Linked DNA regions of Homo sapiens: regions 1 and 2 are each linked to region 3. The links are contacts of gene promoters, found by promoter capture Hi-C in human tissues and cell types (Jung and others, 2019). All regions are on one chromosome and are shown on one strand. Each heading gives the region's core, a stretch centred on a gene start or on the middle of the fragment in contact. The rest is flanking DNA. Distances are from core to core; before and after follow the strand shown. Region 1 has its middle 36 kb from the start of SIX4. Region 2 overlaps MNAT1 (MNAT1 component of CDK activating kinase). Region 3 holds the start of SIX4 (SIX homeobox 4).

Region 1 (3,640 bases), core at 1,082-3,581, 36 kb after region 3:
GAGACAGGAGAATCGCTTGAACCCGGGAGGCAGACGTTGCAGTGAGCCGAGATCGTGCCACTGCACTCCAGCATGGGTGACAAAACGAGACTCCGTCTCAAAAAACAAACAAACAAACAAAATGCATATACTCTGACTCCGTCATTTCTTCTGTAGAGATTTGTTTTACAGACATATTTTACACATTTGCAATAATCCTATATATTAAGGGTGCATGTTGTAGACTTCTTTGTAATGGTAACTGTGGAAAAGGCCTAGATGTCCATCATTGGAAGGGGTAATTAAATGCCACACAGCTGTTAAAAATACATGTTGTTAAAACTATGAAAATCAAAATACACAACAGTATTCTTACAATACCATAATTTGGTGGGTTTCTTCAAAAGTTGCAGGGGAGACCAGGCGCGGTGGCTCATGCCTGTAATCCCAGCACTTTGGGAGGCTGAGGCGGGTGGATCACCTGAGGTCAGGAGTTCGAGACCAGCCTGGCCAACATGGCGAAACCCTGTCTCTACTAAAAATACAAAAATTAGCTGGGCGTGGTGGCTGCTGCCTGTAGTCCCAGCTACTTGGGAGGCTGAGGCAGGAGAATCGCTTGAACCTGGGAGACAGAGGTTGCAGTGAGCCGAGATTGTGCCATTGCACTCCAGCCTGGGTGACACAGCAAGACTCCAACTAAAAAAAAAAAAAAGTTCCAGGGGAATATGTACACACACACATACCTATAGTCTAGGGAGAAGAAATAAGACTGAAGGTCAGAGATGGAAAGATGACCTTCACTTTTATATCCTTTTAAATTGTTTAATTATTTTTATCATATATCGCTTTTATGACAAAAGTGTAAAACTTTCAAAGGCACTATTCATAATCTTTGCCTCAGTAATTTTCTTCCTAGCAATATATTTCCCACGATAATTTGAGAGACAAAAATTCATTCCCAATATGCATCAAAAACTTGAAAATAACCTAAAGTCCAATATTATGTAAACAATTGTAAAAATTATAATTTTTTTTTTTTGAGAGGGAGTCTTGCTCTGTCGCCCAGGCTGGAGTGCAGTGGCACGATCTTGGCTCACTACTTTCGCCTCCCGGGTTCAAGCGATTCTCCTGCCTTAGCTTCCTGAGTAGCTGGGATTACAGATGTGCACCACCACACCCAGCTAATTTTTGTATTTTTATTAGAGACAGGGTTTTACCGTGTTGGTCAGGCTGGTCTCGAACTCCTGACCTCGTGATCCGCCCACCTCGGACTCCCAAAGTCCTGGGATTACAGGCGTGACCCACTGCGCCTGGCCAAAAAATTATAATTATTTTATAACATTTTCAGTGATACTAGAAAATGATACAACGTGACAGAGAAATAAAAGGACCCCAAAAGGGTATATATTATACCTTCAATTTGATGAGAAAATAAATGGAAAAAAAAAAGCTTAGTTAAAAGTCCACAAGTACACATACCAGAATGTTACTGTTACTGGTGGAGGGTCTTGACTGCATGTTGTCCAGGTTCTTGGCGTTTTGAACAAAGAATTGGACAAAATGTACAGCAGAGCAAGGAAAGAATGATGCAGCGAAAGAACAAATGCAGAGATTTATTGCAAATGAAAGTACGCTCCACAGCGTGGGAGCGGCCAGAGCAGCGGCCCAAGGGCTCCAGATACAGAATCTTCTCCGGTCCAAACAACGGCTAGAGGTTTCCCAGTGGTTGCTCGCTTATTGGTTGTGGAAAGCAACCAATCAGCAGCTGAAATGAAGTTGCAAAGGTCAGACTCCCATGCAAACATCTGACTGATTGTGGAAAGCAACCAATCAGAGGCTAAAGTGATGTTACAAATTTTTCACTTCTATGCAAATGAAAACTTGGCTCGCAATCGGTCTGATTGGCTGCAGACAGCAACTAATCAGAGGCTGAAGTGAAATTATAAAGTTACACTCCTAGGCAAATGCCTCATTGGTTGCTTCTTGCAGAGGTATTTTCAATTTCCCATCTGCGTTGCAGAAAAGATGGGGGTTTACAAAGGGAGTAGCCTGTGGTCCTTTTGTTACTTAGGTGTGGAAAGTTAGGGATTTCCTTTCAGTTTAGTTCTAGGAAGTCAGTGTGAAATGGCCTTAGGTTCCCTTCCTCCAGACCCTATTTTCCTGCCTCATTATCAGCTGTTGCCACTAGAGAATACCACTATGGATGAGTATTCTGTTTCTTAATACTTTTCTGTTTGATGATATCAGTTAGGGCTCTTCTGGGTGTAAGCGTCTGAAACCTAAATCAAACTAGCTTAGTAAGAAGGATATTTATTGGTTCACAGAGTCAGTCAGGGCACTAATATTTATTGGCTCATGAAACCATTTGCTAAAACTGACTGCAACCAGGGTCTCTCCAGTTCTTTAGAATCCAGTTTCTGCTCCTCTCTGTACCTTGGGGTCAATGTCTCCTAGGGTAGCTCTGCCTTCTCCACAAGCCTTAGAACCCTGTTGCCAGTAGCTCCTGGATTCACATTTTCTAGTTTTGCCAAGGAAAATAAAAGACTGTCTCTCCATTGTTTGAGTGGGGTTGGGGAGGTGCATCTAGAACAATCACAATGAAAAGTTCTCACTGGCCCATGTTAGATCTCGTGTCCAACCATTACCCAATCACAGTGGCTCAGGTGGTGGTAATGAGAGAGTATTAGGGGCCAACTTGGATCATGTGTCTACTCTTAGAACAATCACTGTGGCCAGGAAGACAGATTTGTGAAAGGAGACAGCAATATTCACTGACCAGATGGCTAGTGCAAGGGAATGAAGAGTGCCATGTATCTAGAAAAGAGGAGAGCTATTAGGCCCTCAGAATAACGATGTGTATTGCACTTTTCAATGAATATGTTTTATGCAGATAATCAGGAAGAAAATTTTAAAGTAAAAAAAAGAACACCACTTCCTTCTTTCTCCTTCTTGCCCTGGGGCTCAGTAGTGTCCCTGAAACACTTTCTTACAGACTTTCTAGTCAGTTGGGAAGACAATGATATTCACCTTTTGATTAGAACTTGGAATCAAACTTGCTCACCCCTAAATGGCCTGGTAAAATCGTTTTCTGACACCCAGAACCTGATTAGTTGTGGTTTTTTTCCCAAGTCATCTTCCAGTCAACAGAAACATTGTTTGCATCTGAGTTCTACCCTATGGTTTGAATTTTGGGGTGAGGCTTAATTCCAAAGGCCCTGGTTTCTACATTTTTCTGCCTCTCCTGAACTAGCCAAGTCTGTGTTTATTGACCTTCACAGCACAATGCAAAATACCCTTGTTTGCTTTGGCCTGTCCTGATGGGCAAGGAGTCATGTCTGAGTTTGCCTTTCACTGTTTGATTTGCTAATTCTATTGTGTATTTTAGTAACTTTCTGTATACATCACTAGACACCTTTGTTAATGACTCATTATTTCAATGTTTTGTGGAAAAAGATTATACAATGTGCTCTACTTTCTTAAGACAATTTGTTACTTTCTGTAAAATTATGAGACTAAGGACCAACTCATAATGGAATATTTATTTCTAAGTACAACAATAAATATTTCTAATATTTATTTCTAAGTACATATTTATTTCTAAGTACAACAGAAGTAATCACTATTATACTAGATATAGGATAAAATTACATAGAATTATGAA
Region 2 (3,603 bases), core at 68-2,567, 63 kb before region 3:
TCCTCGAAGGAAATTAAAAGCACTGCGCCAATGACACACAATGTTAAGAAAGCAAAACAGTCTTATCATTTATACAGAGAAAGTTTCAGTGGTCTGGATAAAAGATCAAACCAGCCACAACATTCCCTTAAACCAAAACCTAATCCAGATCCTAATACCTAACTCTCTTCAATCCTATAAAGGTTGAGAAAGGTGAGGAAGTTGCAGAAGAAAAGTCTGAAGCTAGCAGAGGTTGGTTCATGAAATTCAAGGAAAGATGCTGTTTCCATAACATAAAAGTGCAAGGTGAAGCAGCAAGTGCTGATATGGAGGCTTCAGCAAGTTATCCATAATATCTATCTAAGATAATGATGAAGGTGGCTACACTGAAAAACAGACTTTTCAATGCAGATGAAACATCCTTCTATTGGAAGATGCCGTCTAGGACTTCCATAGCTACAGAGGAGAAGCCAATGCCTGGTTTCAAAGCTTCAAAGGCAAGGGTGTCTTTTCAGGAGATAGTGCAGCTGATGACTAAATTGAAACCAATGTTCATTTGTCATTTTGAAAAATCATAAAGCCCTTAAATATTATGCTAAATCTATACTGCCTGTGCTCTATAAATGGAAGAATAAAGCCTGAATGATGGCGCATCTATTTACAGCATGGTTTGCTTAATATTTGAACCCACTGTTGAGACCTATTGCTCGGAAAAAAAGATTCCTTCCAAAATGTTACTGCCCATTGACAATGAATCTGGTCACCTAAGACCTCTGATGGATATGTGCAAGGACATGAATGTTGTTTTCATGCCTGCTAACACAACATCCATTCAAAAGCCCATGGGTCAAGGAGTAATTCTGACATTGAAGTCTTGTTATTTAAGTAATACATGTCATAATGCTGTAGCTGCTACAGACAATGATTCCTCTGATAGATCTGGGCAAAGCAAATTCAAAACCTTTTTGAAAGGATTCACCATTCTAGATGCCATTAAGAACATGTGTGATTCATGTGAAAAGATAAAAAATATTAACATTAAAAGGCATTTGGAAGAAGTTGATTCCAATCCTCACAGATGACTTTCAGGGTCTGACTTCAGTGGAGAAAATAACTGCAGATATGGCAGAAACAGCGAGAGAACTAGAATTAGAAGTGGAGCCTGAAGATGTGACTGAATTGCTGCAATCTCATGATCAAACTTGAACAAATGAGGAGTTTGGGCTTCTTAGGGATGATTCTTGATATGGAATCTACTCCTGGTGAAGATGCTGTGAACACTGTTGAAATGACAAGAGATTCAGAAATAACATATACAGTTAGTTGATAAAGCTGTGGCAAGGTTTGAGAATTGATTCCAATTTTGCGAGGAATTTTCCAGTAAGTAAATGTTATCAAACAGCATCACATGCTCCAGGGAAATCTTTCATGAAAGGAAGAGTCAATAAATGCAACGAACTTCATTGTTGTCTCATTTTAAGAAATCACCAAGGCCACCCCAACCTTCAGCAATCACCATCCTGATCAGTCAGGAGCCATCAACATCTGGGCAAGACCTTCTACTAGCACAAAGATTATAGTCACTTTCGAAGGCTCAGATGATTGTTAGCAATTTTTAGCAGTAAAGTATATTTTAATTAAGGTATGCACACTGTTTTTTAGTCATATTGATATTGTACACTTAATATACTACAGTATAGTGTAAACATAACTTTCATACACACTAAGAAATCAAAAAGTTTGTGTGACACACTTTATTGTGCTAGTCACTTTATTGTGCTATTTGTTGTATTATGATATTTGCTTTACTGTGGTGGTCAGAAACCAAACCAGCAATATGTCTGAGGTATGTCTGCATACGAGTAATAAGGGAAAGCACCATGGCCACAGGAGCATTCAGGACTTTGGAGACTTGAAAGAACGATGTCCCACTAAACCAAGCTAGCATTTGCATACAGACCTTTACTATAATTCTACTTCGGGGAAAGGAAGGGCAAATTCAACTAATACTCTGATTTCCATTAATGCCACTGCACTAAATAAGGTATGTCTTTACTTCCACCATGATTCAAAGGAGTTAAAAATACATGTAACTAAGTATGTCCAAAAACAATGTCAGCAATTACCTGAAAAGGCTATTATTAAAATGCTTATCCCTTTTCCAAATAGGTATCTATAGATGCCAGATAGTCTTCATTTATTTCAACCAAAACATACAACAGACTCAACACAGAAGCAGATGTGAGAATCTAGTTTTCTTCTCTTAAGCCAAGCATTTTTAAAAGATTTGCAAAAATGTAAAACAATGCTACTCATCTCACAAAATTTTTTTGTTTTGGAAAATATAGTTATGTTTCATAAAAATACATTGTGGTAACATGTAATAGGTTTATAATTTTTGATGAATAAATGAACATTTCAAAGTTTCCAAATTTTAATTCCTAATATGATAAATGTTAACAGATATAACTTTCATAAATAAGAGGTCTTGAGGGTCATCAATAACTTTTAAAATTATAAAAGTTACTAACACCAAAAAGTCTGAGAACCACTGTTACATGTGACCAATAAAAGATTGCTTATAATGAACAAATGAACTCAAAGGAATGCAATCATAATTTAAGTGTTCCCCAAACTACCCAAGCCATTAAGATTTTCTCATTTATTAGTACTAAAATATTTTTTAAATTTTCCACTGTTACTATTGTTCTAGCTCTCTCTTCACTTCTTATTTTGTTTTTCTACCTCTTTCTCTTGATTAGAAATGCTACATGTTTGTCTAAGTTGTATAAAGGCCCTTTTAAAGAATCACTATAAAGAAACTTGAATTTCACAATTTTTTGTGTGTTTTCCAATTTACTAATTTCTACTTTTCTATTATTTATTTTATTCAATTTTTCTTAATTATATTTTGTTTCTATTTCTTAGAGTTTAACACTGGGTTTATTTTCATTATTTCACTCTTCATATCCACAACAGTTTGTACTTTTCTACTATTTTTAAGAGGCCATGAAAAAATATATATAATTCATTTTTTAAACTATTTCTTCTAGGTCAATATTTATCAAGCATCCATTATTATGACCTTTTAAATAGAATAAAATATAACAACTAGTCAAGATGCTATTTCTATTCATTAGGTCCTCAAATATTTAAGCTAAACAGTTGGCTATCCTCTCAGTACTATGCCAGGTGCCTTGTCAAATGCAAAGCTGAACCCTCAAATGTTTGATGAGTACAAGAATATACATTCTTGTGAATCAATTAAAAACAGTTGATACTAGCAAATAATTATAGACTAAATTATATAAGCTATATAAAGCAGATGTGTGAGAATAAACTATCATCTCCTACCTCAACAACAGAAAATTCCAGAAGATCCATACAGAGAATGTGGGGCTATGAAGGCAAGAACTGTATTTGGTTTATGACAAGCAATGCTTAACTCAAGGTGAAATAGTTCTAAAAATACAATGTTCTCATTTTTGTTTTCTTGAAAGCAAAGTATATCAATGTTTGCTCAACATTTGCTAACATTTTCAATTAATCATTTAAATCCCTAATAAACACTAGGGAAAATCAATTAATAAAATAACAGACAAGTTTGAGACCCGTTCCCCAGAT
Region 3 (3,548 bases), core at 126-2,625:
GCATACACAATACAAGGCCACCCTGAAGCAAAGGTTAGGATGATGTCATTAAAATGTTGAATTTTGAGAGGCCGAGGCGGACGGATCACGAGGTCAGGAGATCGAGACCATCCTGGCTAACGTGGTGAAACCCCGTCTCTACTAAAAAATACAAAAAAAAAAAAAAAAAAAAAATTAGCTGGGCGTGGTGGCGGGCGCCTGTAGTCCCAGCTACTCGGGAGGCTGAGGCAGGAGAATGGCGTGAACCCAGGAGGCGGAGCTTGCAGTGAGCCGAGATCACACCACTGCACTCCAGCCTGGGCGACAGAGCGAGACTCCATCTCGGGGGGAAAAAAAGTTGAATTTTGAGAAAGAGCAGCAGCAGGCAAACCCAACTGACCTACAGTAATCAAAGAAGCAGAAATGGATCATCCCTTTTGGAATTAAGATCTTGTGCAAATTACAAAGGAAAGAGACACAACTGCAAACAACAAAAGACTCTACCCCCACTTCAGCATCAAACCAGAGGGCAATCTGTCTATGCTGTGGAAAAGGGCTTCTGATCCTGCACTGATCTGGATGACACCCGCACATTCAGTGTTTCTAGCCTATCATCGTTAAAAAAGAAATACTCATATACTTACATTAAAAAGTTCATGTAGAAAACTTAAATTTCCATATTTAAAGCTTAGATCTCTTCCACACGACTCATCCAGGATAAACTTATGGTTTAATATTCTACATGTTTAATTATACCATGTTCAACTCAGTTGGGTTGCCAGCCCTCCACGTGGCTTAAGGTTAAGTACATTTTTTGAAGGCTTCTTGTTTTTGTCTTCTCAGTGTGCTATTTATGCTGCTAATTATAAGGTTTTCAAGCATTTTTCCCTCTTTGGAATTTTAATTTACTGTAAATGCTTGCCCCTTAGAACATTTCCTAGTGTCATTTTATTTTTGACCGTTTTGAATACAAAATCCTTGATAAAGACATCCAAAAAGAGGGAGAATGGGGAACAGGGACATACTGGGGGGCTTCTGAATTGTCCTCTGAAGTTTTGTCATCTAGATGCTGAGGGTGGTCTCTTTGTTAAAAATTTAACCATCCAGACCTTAAGGCCACACAATTAATATTCCCTCTGGAATTGTAGGGCCTCTGTTTGAAAGAGTTGTCCAGTTTTCAGGCCACATTAGGTAATTTCCCGCCCAGGAGCGTGGCTTGGAAAGAATGTCGGTGTTTTCCTTCAGGTATAGGTGCCTGGGGGTCAGGAGGGGAGGGAAAGGCGAGGGGTGGAGTGGGAGGCGGGTGATCGACAGGGATAGAAACTGTGTCTCCTCCTCCCTCTGAATGCGAAATAGCCAATGAGGTGGCTAGGCCGGGCCGGCCCGGCCGCCACTGCCATATAGTATGCAGCAACCGGAGGAGTCACGTTGGGGGAACGGCAGAAAGCAGCTATCCGTTTACACTACTTTGCTCTAACAGCTATCTTAATGGTGACTGCGTGGCCGGGGGGAAACCTGATCGGCCAGATACAGCCGAAACCAGGAGGGAGGGAGTGGGCTTTCCGGAGGGGGAGAGGAGGGAGGGAGACGAAGGAGGAGGAGTAAGAGAGGAGGAAAGAAAGAGGAAAAGAGTGCGAGGGAGTGAGGGAGGGAGGAAAATAAACAACAAAAAATGTCCTCTTCCTCCCCCACCGGGCAGATCGCAAGTGCGGCGGACATCAAGCAAGAGAATGGGATGGAAAGCGCCTCGGAAGGGCAGGAGGCGCACCGAGAAGTGGCGGGGGGCGCGGCGGTAGGGCTGAGCCCCCCGGCTCCAGCCCCTTTTCCCCTGGAGCCGGGGGACGCCGCGACCGCTGCCGCCAGGGTGAGCGGAGAGGAAGGGGCAGTGGCGGCGGCGGCGGCCGGAGCGGCGGCGGATCAGGTACAACTCCACTCGGAACTTCTGGGCAGGCACCACCACGCCGCCGCCGCCGCCGCGCAGACCCCGCTGGCCTTCTCGCCCGACCACGTCGCCTGCGTGTGCGAGGCACTGCAGCAGGGGGGCAACCTGGACCGCCTGGCCCGGTTCCTGTGGTCCCTGCCCCAGAGCGACCTGCTACGTGGCAACGAGAGCCTGCTGAAGGCGCGGGCGCTCGTGGCCTTCCACCAGGGCATCTACCCCGAGCTCTACAGCATCCTCGAGAGCCACAGCTTCGAGTCGGCCAACCACCCGCTGCTGCAGCAGCTCTGGTACAAGGCGCGCTACACCGAGGCCGAGCGAGCCCGCGGCCGGCCGCTGGGAGCCGTAGACAAGTACCGGCTGCGCAGGAAATTCCCCCTGCCCCGCACCATCTGGGACGGCGAGGAGACGGTGTATTGTTTCAAGGAGAAGTCGCGCAACGCGCTCAAGGAGCTCTACAAGCAGAATCGCTACCCTTCGCCCGCCGAGAAGCGGCACCTGGCCAAGATCACCGGCCTCTCCCTCACCCAGGTCAGCAACTGGTTCAAGAACCGCCGGCAGCGCGACAGGAACCCCTCCGAGACCCAGTCCAAAAGGTGAGCGCCAACTTTCCTCCTCCTCCCCCTTCCTCTCCCCCACCCCCTTCCCGGCTTTCTTTTCCTCCAAGTGCTCGCAAACATGGCGCTTACCTTCCCCACCAGCCTGGTCCGGCTGCCCACCTCTCCCCGCCCCCTACCTCGCTCCCCGGCCGGCAGAGGTAGGGGGCGGCGGAGGCGGGGGGCGGGGGAACCTCCCTCCTTACCCTCCCCCTCTCCCCCCAGAAGTTTCTGGTCGCCCGCCTAGGTCTCAGTCCCCGCCCCCACCTCGGCTGGTCACTGCTGCCCAGCTTCCCACCCCCATCCCGCTGGCTTTGAAGTTGCCACCCTCTCCCCGTTTCTGGAGGGGCTAACGAAGCAAATGTGGACACCGGCACCGTAGCTCTCCCTGCCGCCCGAGGCCCGCAGAGACTGCCGGCGCCGGCCGGGGTCTGCACCTCCGCGAGGTCACACCGGGCCTGGCGCGCGCGCACGCTCCCGGATCCCCAGGGTTCAGCCGCCCCCCGGGCCTGCGCTGGAGGTCGCGGTGGCTGCTCTGGTGAAGGGAAGAGAGTGTTGTGGGACTGGCGGCGCAGAAGGGGTCTCGGAACGTCGAGGTTTCATATGACAGAGTTAATCATTCACCCTGCCCCTATGGTTCCCTTAGCGGCCGCGGCAACGTGGGGTGCTGGTGCAGCTCGGCTCTGTCATGTTTTGAAACCTGATTCTGAACTCCTTAGGATCGGGTTTCAGCGCAGCCGGGGTAGCAGGGCTGAAGGGCTGCTTCCTCCCTCGGCCCCCGAACGCTGCTTGGCTCCCTCCTGGTACGGTAGTTATGGGTGGGGGGCAGGCCGGCTTACGGCGGGCGGCAGCAAAGGAGTGGGGGCGCTCCCACCCCACTGGGTTTGAGCTTTTTGCCTGGCAGACTGCTTTCCCCCTCTGGTAAAAAAAATACCGGATTTTCCACCTCTTTTGTGCGTCCTCCCGAGTCAGACACTTGGTGTGTGCGTCTGTGTGTTTTGTTGGACGAAACAAAGTAAGGAGAAGGTCGCCTA

What was found. The method cuts DNA at HindIII sites, captures the fragments that hold promoters and counts their contacts. A contact is called where the count stands out against the background at its distance.
Region 1: a fragment that was not itself captured here is called in contact with the fragment with the promoter of SIX4 in region 3 in 1 of the 25 tissues and cell types used here (IMR-90 fibroblasts).
Region 2: a contact is called between a fragment that was not itself captured here and the fragment with the promoter of SIX4 in region 3, in 2 of the 25 tissues and cell types used here (adrenal gland and mesenchymal stem cells).

The regions. Positions count from the first base shown.
Region 1 is chr14:60,686,744-60,690,383 of GRCh38, reverse strand. No RefSeq gene overlaps it. Among named protein-coding and RNA genes, the nearest start is that of SIX4, 36 kb to the left of the region's middle. The HindIII fragment of the contact is 4,287 bases long and covers 188-3,640 here.
Region 2 is chr14:60,785,363-60,788,965 of GRCh38, reverse strand. All of the region lies in intron 1 of MNAT1 (MNAT1 component of CDK activating kinase), which reads right to left. Among named protein-coding and RNA genes, the nearest start is that of MNAT1, 52 kb to the right of the region's middle. The HindIII fragment of the contact is 3,656 bases long and covers 1-3,145 here.
Region 3 is chr14:60,722,178-60,725,725 of GRCh38, reverse strand. SIX4 (SIX homeobox 4) reads left to right here and starts at 1,375. Exons shown (of 3, transcript NM_017420.5): 1 at 1,375-2,514. The coding sequence starts at 1,652. RefSeq lists silencers at 1,893-1,962, 3,241-3,310. The HindIII fragment of the contact is 7,845 bases long and covers 33-3,548 here.